Regions from separate parts of the Homo sapiens genome. Here region 2 is linked to region 1. Evidence: promoter capture Hi-C in human tissues and cell types (Jung and others, 2019). All regions are on one chromosome and are shown on one strand. Each heading gives the region's core, a stretch centred on a gene start or on the middle of the fragment in contact. The rest is flanking DNA. Distances are from core to core; before and after follow the strand shown.

Evidence for each region. The method cuts DNA at HindIII sites, captures the fragments that hold promoters and counts their contacts. A contact is called where the count stands out against the background at its distance.
Region 2: the fragment with the promoter of OR51T1 here is called in contact with a fragment that was not itself captured in region 1 in 1 of the 25 tissues and cell types used here (aorta).

Annotation. Positions count from the first base shown.
Region 1 is chr11:5,192,236-5,195,450 of GRCh38, reverse strand. No RefSeq gene overlaps it. Among named protein-coding and RNA genes, the nearest start is that of OR51V1, 6.8 kb to the left of the region's middle. RefSeq lists an enhancer at 1,005-1,741. The HindIII fragment of the contact is 5,551 bases long and covers 1-3,215 here.
Region 2 is chr11:4,879,870-4,883,227 of GRCh38, reverse strand. OR51T1 (olfactory receptor family 51 subfamily T member 1) reads right to left here and starts at 1,328. Exons shown (of 1, transcript NM_001004759.3): 1 at 345-1,328. The coding sequence starts at 1,328. The coding sequence ends at 345. All of the region lies in intron 2 of MMP26 (matrix metallopeptidase 26), which reads right to left. The HindIII fragment of the contact is 5,093 bases long and covers 1-3,358 here.

The DNA.
Region 1 (3,215 bases), core at 140-2,639:
GAGAAAAAACGTTATCTGCAAAGAGCATTTTCTGGAAAAACACAGAAATTACTTATAAAGCATTCGTGAGGGGTAGGGCTAAAAATGGTAGAAAAGGTGAATACCTGTTTAAGGTTGCCTAAAAGATAGCCAGGTACTCATTTCTCTTTAGTTCTGGCAAAATGATTAGTGTCTGTAGTAACCAAATCAATGATGATCCAGACACTGGGAAATTCAGTGCAAAGGATGCCAGGACTAAGGTGTAATATATGAAACAGAGAGATTATGCAAAAGAATACATATTGAATGATGATAAACTGTCTCAAGAGAAAGGACTAATAGATATTGGCATTTGAGTATTCGCTTACTGGATTAGCTAGGCTTCTTTCTGATCAGCCTTCAAAGTAACTGGCCAGATAACTAATTGTACCGTGTTCATAGAAATCCCCACTATACTCTTTTTAAAATTATTTTATTTTATTATTATTATACTTTAAGTTTTAGGGTACATGTGCACAATGTGCAGGTTAGTTACATATGTATACATGTGCCATGCTGGTGTGCTTCACCCATTAACTCATCATTTAGCATTAGGTATATCTCCTAATGCTATCCCTCCTCCCTCCCCCCACCCCACAACAGTCCCCAGAGTGTGATGTTCCCCTTCCTGTGTCCATGTGTTCTCATTGTTCAATTCCCACCTATGAGTGAGAACATGCAGTGTTTGGTTTTTCGTCCTTGCGATAGTTTACTGAGAATGATGATTTCCAATTTCATCCATGTCCCTACAAAGGACATGAACTCATCCTTTTTTATGGCTGCATAGTATTCCATGGTGTGTATGTGCCACATTTTCTTAATCCAGTCTATCATTGTTGGACATTTGGGTTGGTTCCAAGTCTTTGCTATTGTGAATAGTGCCGCAATAAATTGCATTTACAAACCTTTAGCTAGACATGAAAGTTCTCCAGTTCCATATTTCATGGTGAGGAACAAAGAATATGGTGGGGATCCCCACTATATTCTTTGTTCCTCACCATGAAATATGGAACTGGAGAACTTTCATGTCTAGCTAAAGGTTTGTAAATGCACCAATCAGCAATCTGTGTCTAACTCAAGGTTTGTAAATGCACCAATCAGTGCTCTGTGTCTAGCTAATCTAGTGGGGACTTGGAGAACTTTTGTGTCTAGCTAAAGGATTGTAAATGCACTAATCAGCACTCTGTGTCTAGCTCAAGGTTTGTAAATGCACCAATCAGCACTCTGCCAAAACGGACCAACCAGCTCTCTGTAAAATGGGCCAATCAGCTCTCTGTAAAATGGACCAATCAGCAGGATGTGGGTGGGGTCAGATAAGGAAATAAAGGCAGGCTGCCGGAGCCAGCTGTGACAACTGACTTGGGTTCCCTACCATGCTGTGGAAGCTTTGTTCTTTTATTCTTCACAATAAATCTTACTGCTGCTCACTCTTTGGATCCGCGCTGCCTTTATGAGCTGTAACACTCACTGCGAAGGTCTGCGGCTTCACTTCTGAAGCCAGCAAGACCACGAACCCAGCATGGGGGATGAACAACCCAAGACAGGAGGAATGAGCAACTCCATACGCTCCGCCTTTAAGAGCTGTAACACTCCCCGTGGGGGTCTGCAGCTTCACTCCTGGAGCCAGCAAGACCGTGAACACACCAGAAGGAAGAAACTCTGGACACATCTGAAGTAACAAACTTTGGACACACCATCCTTTGAACACACCATCTTTAAGAATTGTAACACTCACCACGAGGGTTCGCGGCTTCATTCTTTAAGTCAGCGAGACCAAGAACCCACCAATTCCGGACACAGAAGGATGGACAAAGATTATCAGGAATGCAATTAAGTCCACCAACACAAAAATTACATACCTAGAATCAATTTTAATAAAGAAAACTTATTTGGAGCACAGCTTATTCAGGGCAGAAAATAAAAGCTAATAATAAAAGAGGTGCATAATAAATATTCTTAATTAAATAACCACTCATTTTAGATCCTTGATATTTGAACAGAATAGTATAAAAAATAGAGGGCATGATAAATAGTAAATAAAGCAAAAATATGAGAGATGAGATGAAGTAGCCAATAAGGGGGACAGGAAGTAGATTTAAGAGTGCAGAAAAAAAGGACAAAGGAATAAATATGGGGGGCATGGAGGAAAAAATAGGGTGAAGTCAGGAACTCCAAAATCTTAACTGGAGTTCAGGAGAGAGTGAAAATAGAACATGTAGAAGGAACTTACTAGAGATCAATACAAGACAATTTTCTGAACAAAAGAACACAGCAGTTGAAATTGAGAGTATCCACAAAATACCCAGAACAAAATAAAATAAAATAAAAATTCATGGTAAGTTAAGAGAATGAAAAAAACAAGCCACAGAGAACATATTTGCAAAACATATTATCTGATAAAGGACTTGTATACATATTATACAAAGAACTTTTAAAATTCTACAATAAAAAACAAACAATCCAATTGCAAAGTGGGCAAAAGATCTGAACAGACACTTTACCAAAGAAGATATATAGATTGCAATAAGCACATGAAAATATACTCAGTAACACATGTCATTAAGAAACTGCACATTAAAACAAGAAGATACCAACCACTACACACATATTAGAAGGCCAAATTCCAAAATACTGACATCCACCAAACACTGGCAACGAAGTGGAGCAACAGTAACTCTCACTTATTGCTTGTAGGGATGAGAAATAGTGCAGCCAAATTGGAAGACAGTTTACAGTTTCTTACAAAACTAGTCTTTTCATGTGACCCAACAATCACACTCCTATGTATTTACCCAAATGAGTCAAAAATTTATGTCCACACACAGACATGAACTAACCAAGGTTTATAGGAACTTTACTCATAATTGCCAAAAGTTGAAAGTAACCAAGATGAATGGATAAACTGTGGAACATCCATAGGATAGAATATTATTCAGTGATATAAATAAAGGTCTATCAAGCTGTGAAAAGACATAAAGAGCTTTAATTGTATATTGCTTAATTCATTTTCTTTAATTATAGTCATCATTCTCTACATATTACTCCATTAACCTATTTTATCTTGCTGTTGAGAAACTTCCATTCCTATAGTCTTTCATATCCTTCTGTTCTGATTATTATTCCTCAAACAAATATAGATATTCAATAATAGACAAATAGTGAATAAAGTATGGTACATTCTTTGACTTAGTTTCAGA
Region 2 (3,358 bases), core at 79-2,578, 310 kb after region 1:
GGATGTGAAAATAAAATTTTAATTTACTTCTGGTCTAAAAATTACTGTCTTAAAGGAGATAAAGTTTTCCACTATATTAAAGTGACTAGTCTGCTTTTATATGCACAGGAGTCATGTCATTGTTTAAAATGGTTCAGGGACATATGCTCAATTAATTTGGTTTAAATTATGGTATTAAAAATTAAAAATAAAACTCTTTGATAAGCTCAGGGGAAAATTACTGTCTTCTTCCCACTCCTAAAATTCAATTGGAATTGACTCAGCAACCAAAACACCTGTGGATAAGACTGCCCCAAGTCCCTTTCTTTCCAAAGCATAATTCGTGTCCTGACAATTTCCTACCTTCAATCCCATCTTCCCCTAAGACCCCTCACATTAAAACCCCATGAACCCTTGGATTGGAGCAGCTGGAACATAGCCTGGCGGATTGTCTTGGTCTTCAAGCTGTAAATGATAGGGTTCAGCACAGGTGGTAAGAGCAGATAAATATTGGCCAAAGTGCTACAGAGCACCCTTGGGGTGGAGTGGAAGAGGCGGTGTGCCAAAGAGAGGCTGATCAGTGGCACATAGAAAATAGTGACTGCACAGATGTGACAGACACAAGTGCTGAGAGCTTTTTGTTGCTTCTTTCGGGCCACAATGCCCAGAACAGTACGGAGGATCAGGACATAGGAGAAAAGAATAAACAATACGTCAGTGCCATTCAGGTAGAGCTGAAGAAACAGTCCCCAAAAACTGCTGATCCAAGGTTTGGAATATGTGTATTTGATCACTTCTGGGTGGTAGCAAAATGGATGGGAAAGCTCGTGACCCCCATGAAAAGACACAGTGTTTATGGCTACAAGAAGGGGAAGTAAGAAAACTGCTGGTCTAATGCAGATGACCAGCCCTATCACCAGGACCATCCTGTCTGTGAGGATAGTAGCATAGTTCAGTGGGTTACAGATAGCCACGAAGCGGTCAAAGGCCATGGCTACCAGCACCGAGGACTCCAGCAAGGAGAAAGCATGCACAAAGAACATTTGAATGAAGCAAGCTTTAAAGCTGATCTCCCGGGCATGAAACCAGAGAACACCAAGCACAGTGGGAAGGGTCGTAATGGTCAGACATAGATCAACAGCTGCCAGCATGGAGAGGAAATAATACATGGGTTTGTGGAGTCTCCGCTTAGTAATGATGACAAGAAAGATCATACTGTTTCCCAAGAGGGCAATGGTGTAGAGACAGCAGACTGGAATGGAGATCCAGACATGAGCACATTCCAGCCCAGGGAATGCAGTGAGGAGGAAGTTTGAGGAAGACGAAGTGGTGTTATTGAATATTGCCATGGTTGGTTGAAGACACTGAACTATGAGGAAAGAAAAATAATTAAGATTCTTTATATATATAGCATACATTTTATTAGTCATTTTATATACAATTTTAAATTTAAGGTAGTTATTTTTCTTCTGTTTTAAAGAAAGGAAATGGACCCAGGAAGGTTAAATAGTATATCTAGGCTAAAATAGTTCAATACAGATTCAAATTCAAAACCAAATTTACTAACTCCAAAGTCTATTATTTTTTACTAAACTTCAGATGATCAGAGAGGCCAGGCTAATGAGACAATTTGGATAGCTGAATGTTGTAATTTCCTTCCTTTAAAATACAATTTTTTAATATCCTTTTATACTTGTATATGATGTACAGGAGGGGTAGAGATGAGAAATAAGCAAAATAGAGAACTATGTTCTCATGACTCATCTAAAGAAGAATGTTTGTGGAGTCCAAGTGTTTTTAAAATTATGTATAAAAGTCTACATATGTTTGTATTGTTTTTGTCTTCACGTGCAGATGAATGCAGAGGGCATTTGGGGGTGCAAAAGTAACTGAGCGATGAGATGCTTATAAAGCAGATATCAGTTATCCTCTGTTCTTGGAATGATATCTCATAAAGGCAAAGAAATGACACTGGATAATGCAAGGCGGTAAGAGGAGAGGAGACAGTGGTTCCGTTTGCTGCTGGGGAAATCTTTCCTGTGGAATGGAGACAGAAGAAGAAGCAGAGGGCTTTCTCTCTGTGAGGTCATACACTCTGGAGCCAGTGGTAGGTCAAAGTTCAGTGCCTAAATTTATCAAGGTTTTCTCAACATTGCTGGCTAACCAGAGCAATATATTAGTGCTTTCTCTCTTCAGGTACAAGTCTCCATCTGACTGGCCAGGAAGAAGGTAGCATCTGCCCATTCATATACAGAAGACCAGGTGAAATTATTTGAATAACACTCACTCAACTCAATAACAGAGTGACCCAAAGGTCAACATCCCTATTTTCTGGCATCAGTAATGTTACAGACCCATCCTCTTCATTTACCAACCCCTACCTTCTGTTAATTTGTTAACACTGAATTATATTTCCTCCACAATTCAGAATATACCCTGAAAGTTCCCTGACATATTAAGCTAAAACTACCCTCTGCTTCAATCTTTGCCCCACATTTTGCTTGGACCTTTCCCTTGGTGCTTAATAATGAGGCACAACTGATATTGGTAATTTATATATCCAAGTACTGTGTTCTTCTGCCAGAAGTTTGAGATTCTTGAAAGTTTGGGAATGCACGTTTTTAATCTCTCAATGCTAGTTACTAAAGCAGGATCAGGAAAAACAGAAATCTTCATTTAGCAACATTGATTGATTACCAAACAATTATGGCCACAGAAAGGGAGTTTTGAGTCCTATCGTCTTTTGCCTTTTTCTCTTCTTTCTCCTCCTGTCTTCTCTCTCCCATCTCAATTTCTTCCAGTATCTGTTACACCCCTCCCTTTCTTCATCCCATCTTACTTGTAGTTCCCATCAATTTATTGCTTTATCTTCTTCCTCTCCTTATCTTACCATCCCTCATTTTTAAAAAACTCCCCCTGCCCCACTTCAGTTTTTTTCTCCACGTTTGCACTCCCGTCTTACCTGGTCACATCAGCAGGAAACACCACCAACTTCTCTTCAGTCCCATAACAGAGCAGGGACTAAACCAGCTTCCAAAAGCGAGGGCTTTATAGGCAGCCTAGTAGAGTCCCCAGGCAATGGGGAGCATTCTTGATTAGTAAGCATTCTGGTTGGAGTGAGTGATGGAACCCATCAGCAACTCAGACACATCTCCGAGACTTACCCCCAAACCCTGCTCCCAGGCCCAAGCAAATCCCATCCATCAAGGGCTGGGAGAAGAGCCCTAGCCCTGGAGGCAGACAGTAATAGATATCTGCTAAGACTGCCTGCCTGGGTCAAATAACTATAACCATTCCTCTTTACCCAGCCTTAGGCTAAGGAATCTCAGCCAGGAAGGCTCCCTGAATGTCAGAGCTGGATTAGGAGAGCAGAAAGAGT